Regions from separate parts of the Homo sapiens genome. Here regions 2, 3 and 4 are each linked to region 1. Evidence: promoter capture Hi-C in human tissues and cell types (Jung and others, 2019). All regions are on one chromosome and are shown on one strand. Each heading gives the region's core, a stretch centred on a gene start or on the middle of the fragment in contact. The rest is flanking DNA. Distances are from core to core; before and after follow the strand shown. Region 1 holds the start of OPN1SW (opsin 1, short wave sensitive). Region 2 holds the start of GARIN1B (golgi associated RAB2 interactor 1B). Region 3 overlaps GARIN1B (golgi associated RAB2 interactor 1B). Region 4 overlaps CCDC136 (coiled-coil domain containing 136).

The links. Contacts are between HindIII fragments. The study calls those that stand out against the background at their distance.
Region 2: a contact is called between a fragment that was not itself captured here and the fragment with the promoter of OPN1SW in region 1, in 2 of the 25 tissues and cell types used here (IMR-90 fibroblasts and mesenchymal stem cells).
Region 3: a fragment that was not itself captured here is called in contact with the fragment with the promoter of OPN1SW in region 1 in 1 of the 25 tissues and cell types used here (mesendoderm cells).
Region 4: a contact is called between a fragment that was not itself captured here and the fragment with the promoter of OPN1SW in region 1, in 3 of the 25 tissues and cell types used here (bladder, mesenchymal stem cells and thymus).

Annotation. Positions count from the first base shown.
Region 1 is chr7:128,771,500-128,778,182 of GRCh38, reverse strand. It overlaps OPN1SW (opsin 1, short wave sensitive), which reads left to right and starts at 2,389. Exons shown (of 5, transcript NM_001385125.1): 1 at 2,389-2,744; 2 at 3,029-3,197; 3 at 3,520-3,685; 4 at 4,295-4,534; 5 at 5,524-5,698. The coding sequence starts at 2,402. The coding sequence ends at 5,643. CALU (calumenin) reads right to left here. Exons shown (of 7, transcript NM_001219.5): 7 at 4,783-6,683. RefSeq lists cis regulatory regions at 1,923-2,392, 1,293-2,392, 1-2,392, 1-2,392, 1,401-2,395 and 1 more. The HindIII fragment of the contact is 13,114 bases long and covers 1-6,683 here.
Region 2 is chr7:128,711,577-128,718,259 of GRCh38, reverse strand. It overlaps GARIN1B (golgi associated RAB2 interactor 1B), which reads right to left and starts at 2,869. Exons shown (of 7, transcript NM_001282788.3): 1 at 2,570-2,869; 2 at 1,263-1,447. The coding sequence starts at 2,818. The HindIII fragment of the contact is 6,852 bases long and covers 1-5,239 here.
Region 3 is chr7:128,730,886-128,737,568 of GRCh38, reverse strand. It overlaps GARIN1B (golgi associated RAB2 interactor 1B), which reads right to left. Exons shown (of 7, transcript NM_001282788.3): 7 at 5,826-6,469. The coding sequence ends at 6,456. Among named protein-coding and RNA genes, the nearest start is that of CALU, 5.1 kb to the left of the region's middle. The HindIII fragment of the contact is 5,550 bases long and covers 371-5,920 here.
Region 4 is chr7:128,815,786-128,822,468 of GRCh38, reverse strand. It overlaps CCDC136 (coiled-coil domain containing 136), which reads right to left. Exons shown (of 18, transcript NM_022742.5): 16 at 6,538-6,683; 17 at 4,605-4,711; 18 at 339-670. The coding sequence ends at 4,610. Among named protein-coding and RNA genes, the nearest start is that of FLNC, 11 kb to the left of the region's middle. The HindIII fragment of the contact is 4,770 bases long and covers 973-5,742 here.

The DNA.
Region 1 (6,683 bases), core at 1,140-3,639:
ATCTATCTGTAAGTTCACTGATCCTTTCTTCTGCTGTCCAATCTGCTGTTCAGCCATCTAGTAAATTCTTCATTTGACATGTTGTAGTTTTCAGTTCTGGAATTTCCATTTGGCTATTTTATTTTTCCCATTCTTCTGCTGAGATCCATTAACTCACGATGATCATTTTTTTCCTTCCAGTTCTTGAATATATTTATATCGCTGTTTGAAGTTTTTCCTGCTGGTGCCAACTTCTTGGGTCATCTCAGGTTCTGTTTCTATTGCTTGCTTTTTCTTTTGGCTATGACTCATATTTTCCTGTGGGTTTTTTTTTTCTTTCACACGCCTTTTAATTTTTCATTGTATATTAGACATTGTAGATAGTGAACTTTAGAAACTGGGTTATCTTCCATTGAGGGGTGTTGATTTTTGTTCTAATAAGCAATTAACTTACTAGTTGATCACCTTGAACCCGCTGAGGCTTGGTTTTATCTTTTGCTAGTATGAGTCAGCTTTGGCTTTGACCTTACTCTCAGAACAAATATTTAGTCCTGGGATATAGATTTTAGCTCTATGGTGTGGCCTTTTGGGAGTTTCAAGTAGAAAGCCCTAAGTGTTTACCCAGACCCTCTGACTTGGGATTCAAATTCAAACTCTTTCTCTGCTACAGTGGGTAACAGTCAAAATCTGCTTAGCTCTTTCAGACCTCCAGTGGTTGTCTTTTACTGGGCTCTTGGAAATTCCTCCATCCACAGTTCAGCAGTCAGCCTATGATTTGAGGGGAGTTTATATGCAGATTTAAAGACTTTGCCTTCTGTGGCTTCTTTCATTCCAGGAAATCCACCTTCAGCTGTTCTGGAGTCCCAAACTGTCCTCTGTCTCCTGTCCTCTGTCCTCTGACTCTTCAAGCCAAAAAAGGCTGGGGCTTTCTGCTCAAGTTCTAGCTATCCTGTGCCATTTATACTCGGGAGTACACTCAGGGAAAAAAAAAAACAACAATGTAGATGGTTCTTTTCATTGAAGAGTTGAGTTCCTTTCAGTTTCTGCCTGCTTTGGATACTTTAGGTGTTTTCAAAAAGTTGTTTTTCATATTGTGTCCAGTTTACAATTTTTTTGCCTAAGGGGGCATTCATCTAATAAACTATTCTGCCATTACTGGACCATCCTTTCACTTTTAAACTTACTTATACCTAAAGTGTGTCACTTTTAACTCATCTATATATATAGTCTCGCTCTGTCCCACAGGCTGGAGTGCAGTGGCGTGATCTCGGCTCACTGCAGGCTCCGCCTCCCGGGTTCACGCCATTCTCCTGCCTCAGCCTCCCAAGTAGCTGGGACTACAGGCGCCCACCACCACACCCAGCTAATTTTTTGTATTTTTAGTAGAGACGGGGTTTCACCGTTAGCCAGGATGGTCTCGATCTCCTGACCTTGTGATCCACCCATCTCAGCCTCCCAAAGTGCTGGGATTACAGGCTTGAGCCACCACGCCCGGCCAACTCATCTATATATTTATGATCTGCTGAGGTGGAAAAGATTCATTCATAAAGCCTAAAGTGTAGTACTGAGTACAAGTGCAGGTGGAACTTAAAGCAGAGTTGGTGTCACTGGGGTGGGCTGCACAGAAGAGGTGTTTGTGAGGTAGGCTGTGAGGGCTAGATAAGACTTCAATGAACAGACAGGAGGAAGACTGTGGCGACTTGTTGAGCTAAGGGTAGGGGTAGGCATGAACATGGCGTAAGGACAGTGAACAGACCCACCTCCCTGGCTGGAGGTCTGAGTAGGAAAGGCACACTCTTTGAGTAGATTCAACACAAAGAAATGGAGGCAGCCTGGCTCAGGGATGCCCTAGACCTCTAGGCATTGTCAAGTTGCCTAAGTCCTGTTCCATCAAGGCTGTTTACTGATGTGCTTCCAGGGCACTCCCCACTCCCAGCCCTTTCCTGCAGCCCAGGGCTGGTTCCTAGCCTCTCAGCAGACTTAAGATGGGCACCTTCCACAAAGGGGCAGATGAGTTGAGGAAAACTTAACTGATACAGTTGTGCCAGAAGCCAAAATAAGAGGCGTGCCCTTTCTATAGCCCCATTAAAAGAACAAAAAAGTGGAAGCATCTTCAGTGAATATGGGTCAGCACCTCCCAGACCTCAGGGAGTCCACTTCTGTTCATCCCAGCACCCAGCATTGCATATCCAGATTATTTGAGCCCAATCTCTTATCCTCTGAAGAACACAATCGGCTTTGGGGCCACAAAAGGTTTAGGTAGTGGTTTAGGGATTTCTAATCCCAAACTTTGTCCTTGGGAGGTTTAGGATTAGTATTGATCATTCACAGAGCCCAAGTGTTTTTAGAGGAGGGGTTTTGTGGGGTGGGAGGATCACCTATAAGAGGACTCAGAGGGGGGTGTGGGGCATCCATGAGAAAAATGTCGGAGGAAGAGTTTTATCTGTTCAAAAATATCTCTTCAGTGGGGCCGTGGGATGGGCCTCAGTACCACATTGCCCCTGTCTGGGCCTTCTACCTCCAGGCAGCTTTCATGGGCACTGTCTTCCTTATAGGGTTCCCACTCAATGCCATGGTGCTGGTGGCCACACTGCGCTACAAAAAGTTGCGGCAGCCCCTCAACTACATTCTGGTCAACGTGTCCTTCGGAGGCTTCCTCCTCTGCATCTTCTCTGTCTTCCCTGTCTTCGTCGCCAGCTGTAACGGATACTTCGTCTTCGGTCGCCATGTTTGTGCTTTGGAGGGCTTCCTGGGCACTGTAGCAGGTACTGCAGGGGAAAAAGGGGTTAGGGGAAGGCAAAGGTTGCTACTCCACTGGAGGGGGTTCCTAAAGAGGAGTCTGGGGGAAATGAGTCTGGTGCTTTTTAAAATACTGGGGTACAAAGCAACCCAGACTAGAAGTTTGGCTAAAATAGGATGTTTGAGTCTTCACTCCAAATGTCAGTCCAGCCCTGTCTCTCTGTGCTTGCTCCACCCGATCTGTTTGCCACTCTGCCAGCCAGGCTGGGTGGGGCTCTGTCTAGCCCATTATCCTCACATTTCACCACAGGTCTGGTTACAGGATGGTCACTGGCCTTCCTGGCCTTTGAGCGCTACATTGTCATCTGTAAGCCCTTCGGCAACTTCCGCTTCAGCTCCAAGCATGCACTGACGGTGGTCCTGGCTACCTGGACCATTGGTATTGGCGTCTCCATCCCACCCTTCTTTGGCTGGAGCCGGTGAGAGTGCAGGGCAGTGGTGCTGAGTTAACTAGGAGCTCAGGTTGATGTGGGTGGAAAGAGAGCTTGGGTATAACTATTTAGTCTTTGACCTCTACTTTTAAAGAGTTGCAATATGAGGCGAAAGGGCAGTGGGAGACAAGTGCTAACGTTTACTCTGCAGTTGGAATTGCTGTAGCTTCTCCCAGTCAGGACAGAAAACCCCCCTGCTTGAAGCCTTAGGGCATTCCGTGGGTTCTAAGTGGAGAACACAATCCAGGCATCTCAGCTCCCACTGCACTCTTGTGGAGAGTCCAGTGAGCAAGTGTTTGGTCCTTTGCAGGTTCATCCCTGAGGGCCTGCAGTGTTCCTGTGGCCCTGACTGGTACACCGTGGGCACCAAATACCGCAGCGAGTCCTATACGTGGTTCCTCTTCATCTTCTGCTTCATTGTGCCTCTCTCCCTCATCTGCTTCTCCTACACTCAGCTGCTGAGGGCCCTGAAAGCTGTGAGTGGCATTTGATAGTCAGGGAAGAAGGGGTTCGGGGCTCCACATGAGAAGGAAGAGTGCTCTGAAACATAAGATGCCTGGAAATGTCCATAGCCAGAGAGGGTATCTAAAAGCAGCAAAGGAAGTAGGAGGAGGGAGAATGATGGAGATCCAAAGGAACTAGGCCAGGAGATGGGACAGAAAAGAGGCAATCAGAGTGGATGCCCCCTCCCCCATCCCACAGAAAAGCATCCAGAGACCGGGCGCAGTGGCTCACGCCTATAATCCCAGCACTTTGGGAGGCCGAAGCAGACGGATCACCTGAGGTCAATAGTTCCAGACCAGCCTGGCCTACATGGCAAAATGCTAAAATGCGAAAATTAGCTGGGCATGGTGGTGTGTGCTTGTAACCCCAGCTACTCAGGAGGCTGAGACAAAAGAATCACTTGAACCCGGGAGGTGGAGGTTCAGTGAGCCGAGACTGCACCACTGCAACTCCAGCCTGGGCAACAGAGCGAGACTCGGTCTCAAAAAGAAAATTAAAAATTAAAAATTAAAAAAAAAAAAAAAAAGCATCCAGAGGGCCAGGAAAAAGAGAGATGTGATGCTTTCCGTGCTCCACCCCAGGTTGCAGCTCAGCAGCAGGAGTCAGCTACGACCCAGAAGGCTGAACGGGAGGTGAGCCGCATGGTGGTTGTGATGGTAGGATCCTTCTGTGTCTGCTACGTGCCCTACGCGGCCTTCGCCATGTACATGGTCAACAACCGTAACCATGGGCTGGACTTACGGCTTGTCACCATTCCTTCATTCTTCTCCAAGAGTGCTTGCATCTACAATCCCATCATCTACTGCTTCATGAATAAGCAGGTAAAGCTCTTTATTCACATTCCTATGGTCCAGAAGACCCTGGTTCTTTTCTCACCATTGACTTTTAACTCAGAGCACCCTGGACTCTACCCAGGTTTCTAGTAGACGAGGGAAGCCACAAAACCCCCGAGTAGGTTGGGAAGCCTTTGGTAAGCACAGGGAGGAAGGCACGGTTATCAAGACGAGAAAATAGAACCCCGGAGGAAAGAACTTGAGTCAGGAAAATGAAGTTGCTCCAAAGAACAGGATGAATGAAAGCATTTTATTGAAAAACTCGTGCAGCAAACCACCATGGCACACGTTTACCTATGTAACAAACCTGCACATCCTGCACATGTATCCTGGAACTTAAATAAAATTAAAAAAATAAAAATAAAAACTCAGATTCCTCTCAATTTTCAGTCCTTGCATTTAATAATTTCTTAATCATTTCCCTTCCAACTTTTAGCCTGCACGAGCATGTGTGAAGCACAGAAATCATACCACATGCAAAAATCTCTAAAATATCTTATCATCTGAAGGTACTGGGGGATTTCCTATCCCATCTGAAATCCGAGCTAATAAACACCAAACCCTAAGTGGCAAAAACCCTACTTTCAGATGGTATTGTTTCCTCAATCCCAGAGGTAGACTCAAAACTAATTTGAAACCTCCCTGGATAGAAGAGAATTGGCAGTCCTTTCCAGCTGGGAGCACCTGCTAGTAATGGAGGGGCCTCTGCTGACAGTGCTTTTATGAAGCAGGATGGTTTGTGAATTTACCAACAGTGAGGTCTCAGACTTGACCAGTTTAGGATTACCGTAGACCCAGGAGTAGTTCTAGACTGGAATCTAGATAGTTTTCAGGATGGGGAAGATAGATTCAAAACCACCTAAGGGCATTCTGGGTACAAAGCATTGTGCAAGGCTTTGGTGATACAGAGAATAAGGTCTTTTTTCCCATACTTCCTCATCTGCCAAGGTTATCTCCAATTGTACCTTTCTCTCCAGTTCCAAGCTTGCATCATGAAGATGGTGTGTGGGAAGGCCATGACAGATGAATCCGACACATGCAGCTCCCAGAAAACAGAAGTTTCTACTGTCTCGTCTACCCAAGTTGGCCCCAACTGAGGACCCAATATTGGCCTGTTTGCAACAGCTAGAATTAAATTTTACTTTTAAGTAAGTTTCTATTGTCTCCGTCAGAAACCAAACTACTAAAAACACAAAAAAGATGGTAAAAGGAGTGATGGCAGTTTGGGGAGTCAATTTTTCATTTTCTTACTATTGCCTTCTTGCCTACAAAGCTACTGTTTCCACTGGTCTATTTCAGACCACCCAAAGGCCATTTCAACAATCATCAGTTTCTACTCCTAAGTGGCACCATTCACAGCACTTGGAGAACTGATTTCTACATACAAGGCAACCAAAAAGGAATATGCTTTAAGTTTTCAGTGTATGGATACTTTCCTTTTTAGTAACTTTTTTTTTTTTTCCTGCTGGGGATCCATTCTGAGATGATATATGCTGAATTAGAACAAACTTAAGAAAACACTTTAGAAATGGGAGAGACATAAAGAAAAAACAAAACAAAACAAAAAAAAAAACAAAAAAAACTCAGTGGCCCCAAATATGAGTTTGAAAGAACTTTTGGATAACTGCTACAGCTTTGGCAGGAACAGCCATGTCCACAAGCCCCTGAGCAAGCACAAATTATTCCAGGTGCTTCCTCCCCGTTGCATTTGGCTAAACCTTTATATTTGTCTTAAACTGTGTGTTTACTAAAGTTAATAGTTTAATTCTCTCGAGGTTCTCAAAATGAATTTGCATGTTTTAATAACATTTGTAAACAATACCAAAATGTTAAACAAAATTGTTTTACCTTATGCTCTATAGATAAACGTGTGTGTACATTCAGAATCGCTTGTGTTTGGTATCAGATAATTATATAACGAGCAGCAGGTCTCTCCAGTTATACGGCCTAATGGAAGTAAAAAAGGGTTATGGCTGTGGTGAGAAGGATGCTAGAAAATACCAGAAAACAGGGAGAAAAGAATAATCATTTAGGAGAAGGCAGTGCTGTCTCTGAGTTTGGGAGAACTTCGAGGAGAGTTCCCATTCTGACATTTTAGAGCATCCATAATTCTAAGCTAGAGTTCTATTTCTTGGAA
Region 2 (6,683 bases), core at 564-3,063, 59 kb after region 1:
GGTTTCATCATGTTGGTCAGGCTGGTCTCGAACTCCTGACCTTAGGCGATCCACCTGCCTCTGCCTCCCAAAGTGCTGGGATTACAGGCACGAGCCACCGCGCCCAGCCAAAATTTCTTTCTTGAAAGCACCAAAGGAGCTTGCCCCACTGTCTGGCTTGTGCATTTATTGAGTTTAATGCCACAGTTAGTCTTCCCAAGGGAGTTAAAGTTCAAGGATCTGGCTTTGGATCTAATATTAGTCAGCTGGGACTGGGTGGTACTTGCTAGAGGTACACCAAGAACATCATGGAGAGGTGTGTCACTGAGGTAGCATGGAGAAATGAAGGGTTTTCTTGGACTTTTGGGAATTTCTAGAGATTCTTGAGATATCCTACAGATTATTTAAAGAGGCCCCAAAATTTAAAAAGGCTACTTCGTCCCAGACAAGCATGATGTCACTATATGCTACAGCTCTAAGTGAGACTTAGTCCCATTTATTTTACTGATTAAAAAAAAAAAACAAAAAAAACCTGGCCGGGCACAGTGGCTCACGCCCGTAATCCCAGCACTTTGGGAGGCTGAGGAGGGTGGGTCACCTGAGGTCAGGAGTTCAAGACCAGCCTGGCCAACATGGTGAAACCCTGTCTCTATTAAAAATACAAAAATTATCCAGGTGTGGTGGCAGGCACCTATAATCCCAGCTACTCGGGAGGCTGAGGCAGGAGAATCACTTAAACCTGTGAGGCAGAGGTTGCAGTGAGCCAAGATCCCACCATTGTACTCCAGCCTGGGCGATAGTCTTTTTTGAGACTCAGTCTCAAAAAAAAAAAAAAAGAAAGAAAGAAAAAGAAAAAGACAAAGAAAACTGAGGAGCAGCAAATAACTTGTGATTTTAAAAATTGAGTCCAGTTAGTTGTACACCAAGAACTAGAAATAATCTCCTTTCCCCAACCAGTGCTCCATCTGCCAGACTCACTGCCTCCTTGCCCTTGGGCCCAATGCTGAGAGATTTCCTATGAATTCAGTGGCGTCTGTGCAGCGAGAAAGAAAGTGGGCAGGTAGACTAGCCCCTGACTCCTGTCCACATGACATCTCCCTTTGTCCCACTTGGCCTCTGTCCTTCCAGTGCAACACCTGTCTTAGGATACTCTGTTGTCTAAAAAAATCAATGTCACTGCTGATGACATCTCTATCTTCTCCTTGAGTTTAGTAGTCAAGCAACCTCCACTTTGCATCCACCCCTCACCCCTCTTGTCCTCCATTCTCATCTGCATTGCTCACCTCTTCAGGAAGATGTTGGGGGCTATGGATGGTCTGTTCCATGTCTGGTTCTGCCCCTGGTGCCATTTGACACTGGCCATGAGTAGGATGTTGGGGAGGGGCAGGCAGGGTACCGAGGAGGTCACCCCCAGGGCCATGGTGTTGGAAGCTTTGTAGACGTCTCTCCAATTCCTGCCCCTTTTGACCTGCAACACAGCCCCCAGGCACAACCTGAGCATTTGGCAAAAGCTGCAGTCTGTTTCAGCCCAGGGTTTCTCAACCTCGACACTATTAATGTTTTGGGTTGGATATTCTTTGTTGAGGGTAGGATACTGCCCTGCACACTAAAGAATGCTTAGTAGCATCCTTGACCTCTACCTACTAGTTCTAGTAGCACTACCAGCCAAATCGTGACAATAAAAAATGTCTCCAGACATCGTCAAATGTTCCCTGGCAGTTGGGGCCAAAAATCAATTCTTGTTGATAGCCACTATATTGATTAAACAACTACTAGTATTTAAACAATATTTCAACCACCCATTTGTTAACAATTGCCCACAGGAATTACAACCCAGGAGTTCCCTGCCATCTGTCATTTCTGCCAATCCTCCCTGGACTGTTTCCTGGCCTTCTTTGAAAAATGTATCCTCTTGGTCCTTCCCCGAGGTGCCCTATTATCTCCTGCACCTTCACTGAACAGGAAGGTCCTCTCTAACTCCAAAGTGCTGTTCATTCTCGCTTCCATCCAACCAGAGGAGAGCCCAGGCAAGGAGACGAACGTGCACCGAGTGCCTGTTAGACAAGGTACTTTTCTTGCTGTATTTGCATTTCATCCTCAGGTCAGTTCAACCCTTTTACAATCAAGGGGCCAGATTCAGGCTGCACAGGTTACTTGCACAGTCACCTCCCAAGGAGAAGGCAGAGGACTGGAATCTGAGCCCAGCTGTCTCTGGGACCCCAGGTGCTGTTCTTTCGCCAATCCGCATTATTGTTCTCAAGAAGCGTCTCTTTTTACTGCCTCTTTGTTCATCTACTTCAGGTGACAGCCTGGGGGCTGAAGTAAACTGGGGGATTAGATACCAAATTCTCCACTCAGAGCAGAGGACCCCTGACCTTTCTCCCTGGGTGACAGCTGTCTGTAGGAGAAGCCCCGTCTGGGGCTCAGCAAAGCCCAGGTCAGTGAGGGTGGCCTTGCATTCCAGGTCCACTAGCTTCTCCTTGCCTCAATTCTCACTCTGCCCCAGTTTCAGGGATGGACTCTCTCAGTCATATCTTGGGAACAGGTTTCGAAGAATCAAAGAGTGCTATTCTGCGCCACCCAAGAATACCTGGATGAAGTTGCTTTCAAACACCACGGAGTCAAGAAACAGGTTGAATTCTGGAGAATGAACCACCCGGCAGAGCAGTCCCTCCTCCACACCTAGGCCCGCTCCAGGGTTCGGCTCTCCATCCACAGGCAAGAGGCCCCTGAATTCTTCCCAGGCATTCAGGGAAGGGAAGGTTGGATAGGATCTTGTGACTTTTACTGTCTTCTTTGATTTCCTCCAAGTCTTTCTATGTGGAAATGATGACAACATTTCTACACATGCTCAGGGGCCTGCTGCACATTTGTCCTGGGATCTCTGTCTCCCCTCCTGGCCTTGGGCAGCTGGCCAAGCCCTGGGACCACCAGTCAGCTCACAATGATGAATGGATGACATCATGAAAAACCAGGACAGACCTGCAGGAAGGGGAAGTGCAAAGGAGCCTCCCTTTTCCTCCAGAGAGCTTGTGTGCCTTATCCGTGCCTGGACATTCCCCAGCCCTTTTCGGAACCCCAGGACATAGTCCTCCCGGAACTTGCTGAGAAAGCAGTGAGCCAGGCAGAAAGCAAGCAAGGAGGGCTGTCAGGAAGATCCTTCCACTGCTAAGAGGAAAATGCCCTTCCTGCCTTTCAACCCTTCCTTACTCTGAATGCAACCTATCTCACACAACTTTAAAAGCTGCATGTCCATTGAAAACCCCATCTTCCTAAGCTTTGCAGCATGTGGGCCCCCGACACCCTGGTGGATCTGCAGGTTATGGAAGCAGTTGCAGGGCAGTTGGTGCCTGCTCTGCATTCTGCCGCGGCAGGCTGGTTACTTCTGCAGGACTTACTTCCCTTAGGAGGTCAAACTGAAGAAGCAGGAGAAGTAATTAGTTTCTTATCCAGAGGCTGGCTTTGTCAGGGCGCTGGCTGGGAGGAATAGAACCCCGATGAGCAGCTCTGCTAGGTCCCAAGCTGTTCCCCCTCTTGGAGAGTGACAGCATCCCTCACCCCTGAACCAGAGGAGGAAAGAGCCCAAATCATGGGCTGCTAGGTCAGGAAGAAAGAACCAAGCAGGCTGACCACTATTCAAGGCCATTCCTGGGAGAAACTGTTTTCTAATTTGGACCAAATTCTAAATTTTTTTTTTTTTTGAGATGGAGTCTCGCTCTTGTTGCTCAGGCTGGAGTACAATGTGCGCGATCTCGGCTCACCACAACCTCTGCCTCCCGAGTTCAAGCGATTCTCCTGCCTCAGCCTCCCGAGTAGCTGGGATTACAGGCATGTGCCATCACGCCTGGCTAATTTTTTGTATTTTTAGTAGAGACAGGGTTTCTCCATGTTGGTCAGGCTGGTCTCGAACTCCTGACCTCAGATGATCCGCCCACCTCGACCTCCCAAAGTGCTGGGATTACAGGCATGAGCCACTGTGTCTGTCCCAAATTCTGAACTTATTACATAATGAATTAACCATCAAGGTCAAATGTAACACATATAGACAGAGTTTGACAATCATTACACACAAAGGACAAGCATGGAGGCTGACTTTTGTATTTCATTATAAAGTCAGGGAGAAGCCTAAAGGGCCTGGAGGCTCTCACCATCCAATTCCATCAGTCCTTCCCTCTGGTCATTCAGATCACACCCCTGCTCCAGCACCTGTTATAGCTCCTGGCTCAGTAAACCAACTTCCAACCTCACTTTTCTCATTATCTTTTGTTTACCAGGTAGGAAAAGTGTCTTCATGGTCACATTCTCTAAGGATTAGATCAGAGACCACATCCTTTGGTTTGCATTTCCCTGGAAATAACCTAGAAAGGGAACACACAGCACAAAAGCGTAGTAATTAATAAATTGATACGTTGCTGTTCACAGTTAAAGCTTAACCACAACAATAAAGCTCATTGGTTTAGATATACAATTTGAGTATACTTGGCCACTGAGACATCCAAGAGTCAGTTGGGGAGATGACTTCTTCTCTTTTCCATACAAGTCTGTTAAGCCCACTTCTATGGTGTTCAACCCTCAGAGGAAGAAGGCTTGGGTGCCCAGTCTAGAAAGCTGATTGTGAGCAAAGGATTTTTTAGCTCTAAACAAGATGCTAAGCAGTTTTGTAAATGGTGCTTTAAGGTGGCTCACATCTGTAATTCTAGTGCTTTGGGAAGCCTAGGCTCCTGGGAGGATCACTCTAGGACAGGAGTTCAAGGCTACAGTGAGCTGTGATCTTGCCACTGCACTCAAGCCTGCACGAGAGAATGAGATCCTGTCTCTATTAAACAAAAAAATGATGTGCACCCCTTCCTACTTCCCCTGCAAACCTCAAAAACAAGCATATTGAATCTTTTTAGAAACCATGTGACAGATACTTAGTTGTCTATTAGTTGTCTGTCCCAACACCCATTCTGTTTCTTTCTTTTTTTTCTTTTTGAAATAAGGTCTCACTCTGTGGCCCAGGCTGGAGTGCAGTGGCACAGTCTTGGCTCACTGCAACCTCCATGTCCCGAGTTCAAGCAATTCTCCTGCCTCAGCCTCCCGAGTAACTGGGATTACAAACGTGCAGCACCATGCCTGGCTAATTTTTGTATTTTTAGTAGAGATGGGGTTTCACCATCTCTACTAAAGGCTGGTCTCGAACTCCTGGCCCTAAGTAATCCAACCGCCTTGACCTCCCAAAGTGCTGGATTACAGGCCTGAGCCACCATGCCCGGCCCATTCTGATTTTTTAGTAATAGAATACTTGATCATTAGTTGGGCACAGGTCTCCTGTAAGAAAGATTACATTTCCTGGCCTCCCTTGCAGCTAGGTAAGACCATGTGACTACCTTCTGGAAAAGGAGATGTAAAATTATTTACCAATAACTTTAAGCAGTGAAGAAAATAGGGTTAATTTACAGGAAATTAGGACTGTAGAAATTACAAACTTGTAGCTTCTGGGGAAAGTTATATAGATGTAGGTTCCAATAACTTGAGAAAACATTGCTTTTTCCTCCTTGTGTATTCAGTAATATTGATGCTGCCACAATCACTACTGTTTGCACTTTTAGTGATGAAAACTTTGGTGACAGCCTCAACCATGCTGACTGTCCTTTGGTTTGAGGCTAAAGCCACTTTGGCAGTGCAAGGTATCATTTCGTAGCTTGCACAGGAATTACCAGGACATCTGGTTGTCAGTTGGGGCTGGACCCAGGTTTTGTGAAGCCAAGAGTTTATACAATTTTGGAAACTCTTAAAAATAAAAAGACTGGATGGAGGGGGTCATAGGGAGTTATTGTTTAATGGGTGCAGAGTTTCAGTTAGGGAAGATGAAAAAGTTCTGGAGATGGATGGTGGTGATGGTTGCAAAACAGTGAGAATGTACTTCATGCCACTGAACTGCATACCTAAAATGGTTAAAATGGTACATTTTATGTTGTGTGTATTTTACCACAGTGAAAATATGCTAGAACTTAACAAATAAAATTAAAACCCCTACAAAAGTATGATACAAAATTGCTAGAGGTCCTCCTAGGGCCTCATAAGGCCCATATGAATTAGAGGCCCTGAAGCTTTAAGTTTTATTATCTTTGTGGTAAGTCTGTCCCATTTAAATCTATGTCACTATTTAAAACACTTTATTATTGCATAAGCAGTGCAAAGCTTTGTAGAATATTGGAAAATACAGCAAGGTTTTTTTTGTTTTTGTTTTTGTTTTTTGAGGCGGAGTCTCGCTCTGTCATCCAGGCTGGAGTGCAATGGTATGGTCTTGGCTCACTGCAACCTCCGCCTCCCAGGTTCAAGTGATTCTCCTGCCTCAGCCTCCCGAGTAGCTGGGATCGCAGGCACCTGCCAACATGCCTGGCTACTTTTTGTATTTTTAGTAGAGACGGGGTTTCACCATGTTGGTCAGGCTGGTCTTGAACTCCTAACCTCAAGCAATCCACGCACCTTGGCCTCCCAAAGTGTTGGGATTACAGGCATGAGCCACCACGGCCAGCAATACAGCAAGTGTTTAATAAAACTCAGCATAGTCCTGCCTCCTGGAGAACATCACTGTAAGTGTGTGTGTGTGTGTGTGTGTGTGTGTGTGTGTGTGTGTCTGTAAAACCAAAATGAGATCATACTTTAAATATTGTTTTATAACTTTTTAACAACCTGGTTCATTTAGTTGATACTCTCTG
Region 3 (6,683 bases), core at 1,896-4,395, 41 kb after region 1:
AATAAAAATAACAACTCCTTAAGGTCAGGCACTGTGTTATGTGCTGGTGAACCCAAAGTAAACAGGACATCGTCCCTGTCCTCAAGGAACTCAGCTTAATGGTGCGCCATCCATCCTGGAATTGTCCTAGTAAAGGCTAAACAGGTAGTGAGGGTGCCAGAGATAGGGCCCTCCAACCCTGAGGTTCCCTAATGGAGAAGGGCCTGGCCTAGCAAGGGAAAGGGAAATGGAAATGAACCTTTATATACAAGAGTTTTTTTGTTTGTTTGTTTTGTTTTGTTTTTCTTTTTTTTTGAGATGGAGTTTTGCTTTTGTCGCCCAGGCTGTAGTGCAATGGTGCGACCTTGGCTCACTGCACCTCCGCCTCCTAGGTTCAAGTGATTCTCCTGCCTCAGCCTCCCAAGTAACTGGGATTACAGGCATGTGCCACCACGCCTGGCTAATTTTTGTATTTTTAGTAGAGACAAGGTTTCACCATGTTGGTCAGGCCAATGTCGAACTCCTGACCTCTAGTGATCCGCCTGCCTCGGCCTCCCAAAGTGCTGGGATTACAGGCATGAGCCACGGTGCCCAGCCACAAGAGAGATTTTAAAAGTGGAAATAAGTCCTGAGCTTAGTGACCACTCGAATGAAAGAAATGAAGAAGGAGCACTCAAAAGTTAAAAGGTTTAATCATGGGAGACTAGGAGAATGAGCTAGGTGCATGGAATGAGGGAAGTCAATTGAGTTCAAGACATAGGAAGTCTATGTGATGGCGGAATAGCCAAAGAGAAAGAGCCAAGAGCCTGGAGGAGATATTTGGGAGGGGTTGTTGGCTAGCAGATGGCTGATGGAGCCATGAGAACAGATAAACTTTTTGAGGAGACGAAAGCAGATTAGGCCTCATGGGAGCCCCAGAGTTAGAAAGTAGGTGGAGGAAGGAAGAAAAGGACCTGAGGGACAACACATATTAGAAATGCCGCCAATAGCTGCACCCGAGGCCATCGAGTGAGAGCAGCACTGAAGGACTGCTTGGGGCCGGCATGATGGTGTCACCATAAAAGGCTGACATTCATCTCCAAGCTTCCCATCTCTGCTCATGGGTGCTACTGAACTTTCAATGTTTCCTGTGTGCAGACACTGTTCTAGGAACTGGGGATACAACAGTGAACAAAATTAAGTCTGTCACGGTGCTTATACTCTGGTGTGTAGAGGTAGGTGAGACAGCCCATAAACAAGACAAAAAAGCAACATACATAGAATGAGAGGTGGTGACAGGTGCTGTTACCTGAAAAACCAGGGTTTGTTCGCTTAGTGAGTAACAAACAATGCAAAACGCAGTTTGTGATCAATAGCAGTTTTATTACTTGGCATATGTAAGAAGGATACTGGGAATGTTCTCTAAAGCAGTGTCTCCCCAGGGGAAAGTGACAGGAGGGTTTTACAGGGTGATGGAGAGAGTGCAAAATCACATGTAGAGGAGGGGTCCCAGTGGCACAAACGAGTGAGTCATTATGCCAGAACATAGGTGGCATGTTATGGCAACGAAGCTATAGCTCCTCCTAGGGTGGAGACTTTGGCATGGTCAAGGGAAAAGTTGACTCAGTTCATCTATAAATTGCCAGGGTCTGCAAGGAGCTGGTTCAAACCAACAAGGTGACCACATTCCATGCAGGGTTTGGGGAAGAACAGGCTGCAGGGCAGAAGGCTGTAAAACAGGCTGATTGCTCGAGTTGATTGAATTCCTTTTATCCCTGGAGACCCTGATATGGTTTGGATCTGTGTTGTAAACCCTAGTATTGGAGGAGGGGCCTGGTGGGAGGTGAATGGATCATGGGGCGGAGTTCTCATGAATGGTTTAGCACCATCCCCGCTTGGTACTGTATAGTGAGTGATTTCTAATGAGATCTGTTCATTTAAAGTCTGTGGCACCTCCCCCGCCCCTTCCTCCTGCTCCAGCCATGCAAGACGTATCTGCTTCCCCATTGCCTTCCGCCATAATTTCCCTGAGGCCTCCCAAGAAGCAGAAGCCACTGTGCTTCCTGTACAGCTGCAGAACTCTGAGCCAATTAAATCTCTTTTCTTTGTAAATTACCCAGTCTCAGGTATTTCTTTATAGCAATACAAGAATGGACTAATACAGACCCTCTCTGTCTGCTTACATAAGGAGAAAAATAAGGCAGGAAAGGAGAACAGTGAGTGTTGGGACTATCAGGAGTGGCGTTGCCATCTCAGAAAAGGTGGCCAGGGAAGCTCATGAGAGGGTGACACGTGAGTGAACATCTGAAGGTGGTGAACATTCCAGGAAAAGGGAACACCAAGGCAAGGCCCTGAGTTGGGAGTATGTTTGAAGTGTTTGAGGAGCAACTGGAAGCCAGTGGGACTGCAGTACAGTAGCAAGGAGAGTAGAGGACATGAGGTCAGAGAGGGAGCAACAGGAATGAGGGAGGGAGAGAGGGACACCATGTAGGGCCTTTAGGCTATTGCAAGGACTTTAGCTTTCGCTATGATGAGTGAGAGGATATGAAGACTGACTATTTGCTAAATTGTTTCTTCTTCTTTCTGTGAACCCAGCTAGACTACATTTCCCAGCCTCCCTTCCAGTATGGTCATATGACTGAGCTCTGACTGAAGGAAGGAGGGTGGAGATGTTGTACACTACTTCCAGTACTGGCCATACAGACCTGCCATGTGTAATTCTCCAAGCTCATTCTCTTTCTGTGGCTAGAAGCTGTGTATTGCAGATGGCAGAGCCACAAGATGGAAGAAGCCCAGGTTCCTGTGAAACTGCCACTCAGTTTTTGAACCAGGAACACCATTTTTGGACTCTTTGTGAATGAGAAGTAGAACTTCTATTAGCTATTTTATGCCATTGATATATTAGGATTTATCTCTTTCAGAGCTAGCATTGCCTTAACTAATACAGAAGGGAAACCATTGGAAGGTTTTGAGCAGAGAAGAAACATGATCTAAGATTTTTAAAGGATCACATTAGACTGAAAGGGAGTAAGGTTAGGAACGGAGTGCATTTAGGAGGTGTTTGCAACAATCCAGGTGAGTGATGATGATGGTTTGGTCCAGGTTGGTAGCAGTGGAAGTAGTGAGAATATCAAATTCTGAATATATTTTGAAAGTAGTTTGAAAGGATTTCCTAATGGGTTGGAAATAGGGTGGAGAGAAAGAGAGGAGTTAAGGATGACTCCAGGGTTTTGAGCAAGTAGAAAAATGAGGCTTCTGCTTATTAGGATGGAGAAGACTTTAGAGAGAACAAAGTTTTGAGGGATAATTTTTTTTTTTTTCTGAGACAGAGTCTCGCTCTGTCGCCCAGGCTGTAGTACAGTGGTGTGATCTCAGCTCACTGCAACCTCTGCCTCCTGGGTTCTAGTGATTCTCCTGGCTCAGCCTCCCGAGTAGCTGGGATTACAGGCATGCACCACCACACCCAGCTAATTTGAGGGATAATATTGAGAGATTTGTTTTGGGCATGTTGAGATACATATTAGACATTCAAGTAGAGATATCGACTAGGCAGTTGGATATGTATCTCGAGTACATGGTGGTCTGGACTAAATATATAAATTTACGAGTATATTTGTGGCATGAAATCTGTGTGTTTTGATTACAAGAGACTTAAGGACTGAATCCTGGGAATTTCTGATGTTCAGATATGATTGGGGGGTGTTGATGAGAATGAATCAGCAAAGGAACTGAGAAAAAGGTCAATGAGGGAGAAGGAAAGCCAGGAGAGTGTCCTGGAAGCCAAGTGAAGAAAAGGTTCAGGGAGAAAGCATGCTGCTGACAGTGAGGTGGGGCCCAGTTGGCCATGGGCTTTAGCAGTGTGGGAATCTTTGACAGGTTTGTCAAGGTAGTGAATGCAAAAACCTGGTTGAAGGACTTCAAGAGACAATGGAGATTTTTAAAAGTTGGTTCCCTTTCATGGAGTTTTCTGTAAAGGGGTGGAGAAAACTGGAGCAAGGAGGCAGAGGGGCCAAGAGAGGTTTTGTTTTATTTTGTTCTGTTTTTATTGTAAGAAATAAGTATGTTTAGGAGGCATGCCAGTATGTTCGTTGCTGATGGGAAGGATCTGGAAGTAGAGATCAAACTGATGACGTAGGAAAAAGGAAAAGTTGCTGGTGTGACATATTTGGGTGAGATGGAATGGGATCTACTACAAAAGGGGAAGAGCTGGACTCTGCTTGGAGAGACAGTTCCTCCATAGTAACAAAGAGAGAAGCTAGAGTCAATGGGTCTGGATCTAGGTAATTGGTAGATATGGTGGTGAGAGCCTGAAATTCTCTTTCAATTCTGACTATGTTCTCAGTGAAATAGGAAGCAGGGTCATCAGGAGGAGGCATTGGCAGTTAGAGGAGAGAGGTGTGAAATAGCCATTCAGCAGAGTGAACAGATTTAGGAGAACACATGATGATTTCCAGGCAACATCAAGGACCCCCTTGAGGCCATGATGATGACTTTGCAGGGAGACTGGTTAGTATGTCATGTGATCTTCTCCAGAGAGGTTCAGTGGCAAGTTCAGCAGCATCACACAGGCATGGAGCTGGTAGAGAACTGAATTTAGCCAAGGGAAGAAAGTGAGAGAGTCACAAAGATGTTGAGAATGCATGCCAGGAAGTGATAATAATAATGACTGATCACAGATAATCTAGGTTACAGGGGAAGGAAATGAGAACATGAAGAGAGCGAGGAACAGTGAAAACCTGGTAGAAGCAATAGATTGTAGGATTGGTGGGTCAATGGATTATTGGACTCAGGAAAAAATAGGAGGTGTTATAGCTAGGGAGTGGAAATAATGGGGTTAGGTGCAGTTATTAATGACAAACACTAGGGTAAAATCAAGGGAGACAGTGGTCGAGGAGGGTGGAAAAAGCATTGCTGGAAGGCAGGAGTTCAGGGAACAGAGATCAAAGTATGGGAAGGATCATCCATGTGGATGCTGAAATCACTAAGAATTAGGACATAACTCAGCCTTTGAGTAATGGTGATCCAGGAGCTTATTTTTTAGCCTTCTAACAATTTCAGGCTGAAAACTAGTTAAGTGAGGAAAAAGATGCTGCTAGGATATCTTAAGTCAAATCAAAATACCCTCCCCAGCTGGGGGATGGACAGCTTTCCTGAAATACTCATAGTCTGTTTCTCATTAAATGTGAAATTTTTCTTTTTTTGAGACAGGATCTCACTCTGTCACCCAGGCTGAAGTGCAGTGGCACACTCATTGCTCACTGCAGCCTCGACCTCCTGGGCTCAAGCAATCCTCCCATCTCAGCCTGCCTGGTAGCTGGGACTACAGGCACACACCACCACTCCTGGCTAATTTTTTTGTATTTTTGGCAGAGATGGGTTTTCGCCATGTTTCGCAGGCTGGTCTCAAACTTCTGGGCTCAAGTGGTTCACCTGCCTCAGCCTCCCAAAGCGTTGGGATTACAGGCACGAGCTACTGCTCCTGACACTATTGCACATTTTAAACAAAGAGGCCAGTCCATAGACCATCTGACAAACACTCCTTCATGACTCCCTTCATCTATAATTGGTAAACCTCTGATTAACCTGTATGTTGAGCCTATATCTCCTATCTCTGGAATCTCTAATTTAAAAAGCACTAACAAGGTATGTCGACATTTCAAGGGAGTGTTATACAAAAAAGAAGTTGAGCCAGTGTTTGCGGCACGGAGATAATAGCAAACTTAGGGAATTTGAACACAAAAGAGAAATTCGCCCTACCTTACACACCTTGTCTTACTACCTCCTATAAGAACCTTTCTGCAGCTCAAACCCAAACCTCTATTAGGAACAACAGGGCTAGCAAGTCCAAGTTAGGGAACAGGCCAACAAAGAAGGAATGAAGCTTTAATCAGAAGACAGGAACTAGCAAGAAAAACAGATAGAAAGGGAAATGGAAGGTGTCTGGCAGTTCACATTTGTCCAGAATGGTCTGAGCAGGGAAGAAAACATTTCTTTTTTTTGTTTATGGCTTTACTTTCAAGTTTTAAATTAGATAAATAGAAGCTTGGTGAGCATCTCTCAGGGGTGTGTCCCTTCTCTTGTCCTCCTTATCTCGTCTACCAAGTCTCTTCCGTTTCCTATTACCACTTCTCTTTGTGTCTCTCATCTGCTGACTTTCTCCCACCACCTTTCTCATCACCTCCATTTTGCTTCCTTCCACTTCTCTGGTCCTACTTCCCTTTCACTCCTTTCCTTCATCTCTTGGGCCCGGCCATTCTGAGAGCACATCTTGCTAGGCCAGCTCTGGCAGTGGCATGGAGGTGGCATATGCCGAGGTGCAGTGGCGAGGACGTGGTTATGTACAGCTGGAAAGGCTCTGCTGTCACCGTGAGATGACTCTATTCTTCCTTGGTTGCAGTTTTCTCCTACTCTCCATCCCGATAATCCCTCAGCAGCTGAATGCTGCAAAGTGGTGTTGACGAGGCTTGCATAGATTCTCCCCAGTGCGGAAGGGTGGCTCAAATAGAATTTCCTGTGAGTGTAGGAGAGAAAAGTGTTTGATAGGATATAAATTACCTAAAAAGCTCTTTTGTGGGCACACAGATACTTATGCTAATTTAAAAAAATTGTCAACTATCTATAATAGGTATCTTATAAGGGTTGGTGGTGGCCGGGCCCAGTGGCTCACACCTGTAATCCTAGCACTTTGTGGGAGGCCAAGGTGGGCAGATCACCTGAGGTTGAGA
Region 4 (6,683 bases), core at 2,108-4,607, 43 kb before region 1:
AAGGCTAAGTCACGAAGGCACACACGTGGATCTTCTTAGGGCGGCCTTCTCATGTAGATAGGTGTGGGCACAGAACCTTAGGGGAGGTCTCCCCAGCCCTCAGTCACTCCATTTCTCCATGCTCAGGAGAGCACCTCAGGATGGGGTTAATAAGCACAGACTAACCCCTCTGTGAGTCAGTCGACAGCACAAGGGGCTAGCCTCATTTCTGAGGCCATCTGCAAGGTGAGAAGCCGCATTTAGGAGTCAGACCCTTATGTGAGGTACTTGGTTAAAGGGGGACTGCTCTGTTCTGGTTGTGTTGTGAGGCATTTAGCAAATAAAAATCCACAGTCTCATGTAATTCAGTTGATATTTAATTACAAGGAACTCAGGTTCTTACACAAGGCAGGAGATGGAAGTCAGCCGCTCCCCACAAGCCTTTTCAGCCTGGGTGACTGAGGCTGAGGAGATGGGGACACATGGAACATATGGGGAGGGTTCTGGCACAGTGTGTCCTGCCCAAAGCTGAGGGTGGTGGCCACTGGGGATCTGCCCTCGCGCTGGCCAAGGTCTGCCATCACTCCATGAGGCAGAACTCTGACTCCTGCTGTCGCATGTTGGGTAACACATACAGAGCCACAGCTGCAATAGCCAAGAATACCATAGGCTTCCACAACCCAAACATGTTCTGTGGGGACCAAAGAGAAACTGTGAGTGCCCAGCCTCCTGAACCCTGCCCTAAGCCAGAAGTCACCTGCCTATGGGTGCCCAAGACACCTCAGGAACATTGTGGATCAGTCTCTGTTACCTCCTGGGTAACCGGTGGAGGTAAGTGATCTCTCAGTCCTGGCACCACTAGACATGTGGCCCAACACTGTACGCACCACCTTAGGTGACCGCCTGTATTCAGGCCTCCGTTTCTCCCCATGGGCTGAGAATACTAGCTCCCATGTGAAGAAGCAGGCTCAGGGGCCAGACTTCCAAGTGGTTGCAATGAGAAAGGACTGGATGCCATGGCAAGAAAGAGGAGGGGAAATCTGGGGCTTTGAGAAAAGCAGCAGCACCTCATTAGTTTCACTGCAGTGAAGTGAACTCAGAGTCAAGAGGATGGGGAAGGGGGAATAAGGCTGAGGGGAAATGAAGAAAGTGCACCACGGAGTGCAGGTAAGTAGGAGGTTCTTAGGCAGACAAACTTTGACAGAGAATGACATTGGTTCAAGGAAATTTAAGGAAACCTGTCACTGGGCCTAGGTCATTAGAACACTCCTAATCACCAGGTATGTTGACTGACTTCCTGGTGCATGTGCTAGAGTATGCTGAGGCTTCCAGACACTGCCGGCCACTAGGGAACCCTGCTGATTCATGGGACAAGTGGCACCATCGAAGATATCCAAAAAGCATCCATTAGGTAATATGAAAATCTTAGACAAGAAAATACATACTTGGGGAAATAGGTTTTATTTTTATTACTTTTTTACTCTACTAACTGAAAGGTAGAATTTGGATTTTGAGTCATAAGCTATGGCATAGGTAACAGAAGGATGGTTTCAAGTAAAAATGGAATATAGCCCATTAATGCTAAGAACACATTTTCTCAGATGATAATTGATCTAAAAAGAGGACTTTAAGCCTGCTAAAGAGCAAAGAAAATCTCCTGAGCTTATAGAAATAGCTACTAAGAACAACAGAAGGTATGAAATGGAAAGCCAAGCAATGTTACAGGTGGATATACAGAGTAACTCATGTAAGAAAACCAAGAGATCCGGAGGCTGAGGGAGGAGGATCGCTTGAGACCGGGAGTTCAAAGTTACAGTGAGCCATGATCATGCCGCTGCACTCTAGCCTCGGTGACAGAGCGAGACCCTGTCTCTAAAACCAAAAACAAAAACTAAGAAGGGAGCTAGCTAGAAAAAAATATTTATATGCTCAGATGCCTCTATCCTAATGTGCATTGCTAAGAATGTTAGTCTGGTGTTCTTAAAGGAGGGAGGAGCTGAAATCCTTAAATGTGACCCGTGCACCTCACACTGGGCAAAGGCAAGCTTCTACATGGGATGGGGAAAGGGCTGGTGTGGGTGTCCCAAAGGGGAAGTCGTGTCAAACTCTCCTTTTAAACTAGGTGACCTAAGTGACAAATCACCGGAATCATGTTTTTGGACGTTGAGTTGTTTGACAGAATTTTCTATGATCTTTGCAGATAATATGCAGAAATAAGGGTAGGATGACAGTACAGTTTGTTGAATGGCAGGTAAGTGACCAATGAGCTGAATAAAAGAACCCCAAGAGACGACACTCTAGAGGCTCTGTCCTCACTCTGTCCTCTGTAGATGAAGACAGGGAAGGAGGGCTTGCCACCCCTGTAGATGATGTGAAGGTGGCAGAGGAAGTGAATATTTTAAAACCACAGGGTCAAGATTAAAAACACATACACACAAAACCTTATAAGGTAAGAACAATGAACTATAATAGGGAAGAATGGAAAATTCTGCCTTTGAAGCCTCAAAATCAAATGCAGGTACAGAATGGGGAGAGGACGCTTAGCATACACAATCTGCAGAGGGGCTTATAAAAAATACATGAAATAAATAAATAATATATTAGTTACCTAAAGAGCTAATGTGATCTGAGGTTGCCTAAACACAAGTATGGTGTCTTCCTACTTGGGACCAATGAAGAGAAACTGCTCAAAATGAGGAGAGACAATAAAGGGAAGCAAGACTGGAATCTTATTTGTTGCTAATATTGAGTCCTTATAATCTGACTCGCAGCTTCCTGGCTGTTTTACTTAACTTCTCTATGCCTTAGTTTAATCATATATAAAAAAAAATAGGAGTAGCTTCTTCATGGGGTTGTTGCAAGGATTAAATCAGTTAATATACGTAAGTGATTAGAACAGTGCCTGACACATAAGACTGCATTTTGTAAGTGCGTGCTCTTTTTATTAATGATGGGGTATTTTATAATTTATAGAATACTTTCATCTACTTCAACCCATCTGGTCCTGACAAAAACCTGTGAGGAGGGCAGAGGTTCGATCATCCTTTGCTTACATTTGAAGAAACTAGAGCTCAGAGTGTGCATTTTGCTCCCTGGGACAACGCCTGTCAGTAGAGACAGACTCAACCAAGTTCTTCTGACCGCCTGGCAGCCACGCTTTCTACCACACTGTGCTCCCTCAGGTCCTGGCTGCACAGGTGCATGTTGGGGCCTCCTGGAGCTCTGGGGATAACAGGCCCCACCAGGAGAACCCTTCACCAGCAGTTCTTCCTCTCCCTCTGATTGGGCCGGGCTGGGTCTGAGGTAGTGGAAGGCTGTGGCTGAACTCTTTGGGTTTCACCCGTAGTGCCTTAAGACTTCTGGGGGGTGACAGGGGAGAAACAGTCATAGAGAGGGGCCCCGTCACTAAAGCAGTTGTGGACCAGGGAGTAAAGGGAATACCTAAAGTCAAGAAGAAAAGTGGAGGCTTGAAGATGAGTAACAGGAAAGCTGGGGAGGGAGCAGGAGGAAGGACAGAAAAGGAAATGGAGAGAAGTGCCACCAACAAATCCTCCAGTTGCCACCCTGTGCATTAAGCTACATTCCGTTCACAGGAATGTGAGAAGAGAGGGGAGTGGAGGGGGAGGCAGGGAAAGCATGAGAGAGGAGCCAATGCAGGACTAGAGAGAATACCTTATGGGTTCCAGAAGGCAGGTGGAACCCCAGGCTTCTACCTTAGGCCGTAAGACCACATTCTGCCTCCTGAATTTGGTATCCTGTTGACAGTGTACATTACATGTGTGGGAGCTGACAGGAAAGTGGCCAGAATATATCAGTCTTGATTTCCTGAGAACACACATCTCTGGCTAGTAGAAACTTTTCACTAATACCTCATTCTCTCCAGAAAACCTAGCTGGGGAAGCCAATTACCATGGAATCTGGCCCACAAAATAGATAAATAGATAACTAATAAAATTTCCCGGCATTCTGTTCTGACTTTTCCGGAGACTGGAAGTCCAGAAGCAGAGAACTGTTCAGTAGAAAGAGCAGAATACAGTAGGGGTTCGGTTCCATTTCACCAAGCTTGATGGACCAGCTTAGGTTGCCCTCCTACCAATGCCCCTGGGAGGATCATGAGGATCAGAGCTCTTCAGAGCTCCTCTCTCTCCCAACAGAAGAGGGATTCCTTATTTTGCCATCTTGGGTAGCAACAGTAGTGAGAACTTGGCTCCGGAGTTAAACCAAGACAAAGAGAGTCCAGGCCAGCCTTGCAAATATCAGCTCATCAGAAGTGGTCAGGCTAGCCATCACACAGAGGATGAGCGGGGATAAAGAAGTAGTGAGGCAGCTTTGACAGCAGCAACCAAGCTGGGCTTATCCAAGTTTTTCCCAGCCAAGGATTGAAACAAACCATGTCTCTGGCAAGCATTCCAACCTCCTATGCATTACGAAGACATGCTCAGAGATGTCAGAGGCTTTGCAGTAGCCCAAGGAAAAGTCAGAACTAAAACTCAGACCTGAGCATCACCTATTATAAAATGGCACAAGCAAGAAGCAAGCAGCTGGGAGAAAAGGGAAAGAGGAGAGGCCAGGGCAACCTGCACCCTCCCTCTATCCCTCAGAAGGAGAGGAAGCAATACCAGTACCTGCATTAGGACGACGTCTCAGCCCACCAGCACCAGAGCAAAGCCGAGATGACCACCAGGCCTACAAGAGGCAAGGAGAAGATGGGGGGATTGGGGGTAGGGGATGACTGCAACACACCAAAATGAGAAAGAAGCACGAGGAGAGACCAGGAGATGTGAGACATAAACGCATGGATCCAACAGATAATGAAGATGAGAAAACAAAGGGAAAAGAGAAAGGAATCAAGAGGTTAAAAAACAGGTAAGCTAGAGCAGTTGCATGTCTTTTCTGCTGCCTGGGCCTTGGTTCTTTCCACCGGCAGTCTGCAGGAATTGCAAAATTGAATGGGTTAAGCAGCAGCTAGGTCCAAGTCAGGCGGTGAGTCCAGTTTTCTTTCTGTCTCGTCACATACCTCTCATATCCTGTCAAGCAGGAGGTATCTGCATCTAGACCTTTCTTGTGACTTTTCCTAGGTCACTCTAGGAAGAGCCAGTCTTCTACCAGGTCACCTGTCCCTTTGTTCTAGCCTGCTTTCCATTAAGTTTCTTAGTATTTTGGGCTCTGGTCCCTTAGATCCCCTAGGAATCTAATGATATCATTGTAAGACAACATGCACCGAAACAAACTGACAATGGAGAAGGGCTAGTTCTTTCACTGCAACAATCTTCCAGAGAGAAACCGATTTTGCAAGGTGGTAATACACATGCCCTAGAGCTGCCTGCAAAAGACGCAGGACCCACGGGGCAAAGGGATCTCTCCATATATAGAAACATAGAATATATTTGAAGTAGAAAAATCAGGTCTAGCTTTAGAAATGTGGCACCGAAGGTAAAGACATCTGTGAGGCTCTGAACCAGCACGTGGTGGAATATGATGAGCTCAAGGAAACATGATAGTGGGAGGGGCTGCAGTGGTTCCGACTTTCCACATCTTAGGTAATGGTCCCCTGGCACAAGGTAAGCAGAGCACTGCACACTGGATCCTTAGCCAGTGCTGAAGACCAAATTGCTGGAAATTCCAGATATCCTCAGAGTTGACTGGATAATCCCACCACAAGAGGCTTTTTTTCTTTACCTCTGTTTAGAACAGAAAGAACCTGTAATGTAAGCTGAGGACTTACACAGGAAATACTCTAACTCTGTAGGGACTCTGAGCCCTGAGTTAAGTCCAGGGCAAGAATTCAGTTGCTACATACCTGCAGAGACGTACCAGTTATTAAAATATGGAAGTACTTCTATATTGTTGGTAAGTTACCTCTGGCATTCTGGCATATATATCCCAGGATACCTCCACCCCAACCTCTCAATGATCTAGCAACTGAAGGGTTAAGGCTAGGGATGGTCTCCTTGGACTAGTCTATGCTCCTACTGTACAGATGTGAAATATTTTCACTATCACTCTTGATCACTTCCAGGCCCCACCTTCATGTCCTGTGATATACAGAATCCAGGGGGCAACATGAGCCTACAAAGAAGAGATTATCCCCTGACACACCCCTAACAGCAACAACAAAGGTTAAACCTAACAGGGCACCATAGGAAAACTGGACTGAGTGACTTGCCCAGACCGACAGAAATGGCCTGAAGTAGACTTCACACTGTCAATGTCCTTCCTGCAGTGCCAAAAGAGGGATGAGGGAACACTCCCGACATAAGGAAGGTAACAAAGGCTACTACGTAAATGAAAGGACTCCAGAGACCCCACGCTGGTTCCCAGAAAAGGTGGTCATTGTGAGGTGGTTCCACAGCAAACGGGGCTGAGCCCATGATTTCGTGCAGACAGACTGCTCTCATCTCCCACTTCTGCATCTCCACCTCCCCGAAGGGTTGTGCCTTAGAGCGCGAGGCCTCCACTCCTGGAGATATCCATCCTTGGCAGGGCCACCCATTAACTCGGAGTTATCTGAGCCCAAGACCCCACTTCCCACTTGATCTAGGCTTTGGCTCTGGTTACCTTTTTGCTCTCGGAAAGTCTGAGGGGGTTATTTTCTTCGGGACTTTCAAGGGAAGAGTCGGCGTCATCCTCCTCCTCTTCACTGTCTTCTTCCTTCTCCTCTTCCTCTTTGTCCTCTTCATTTTCCTCCTGATCTTCTGTGGATT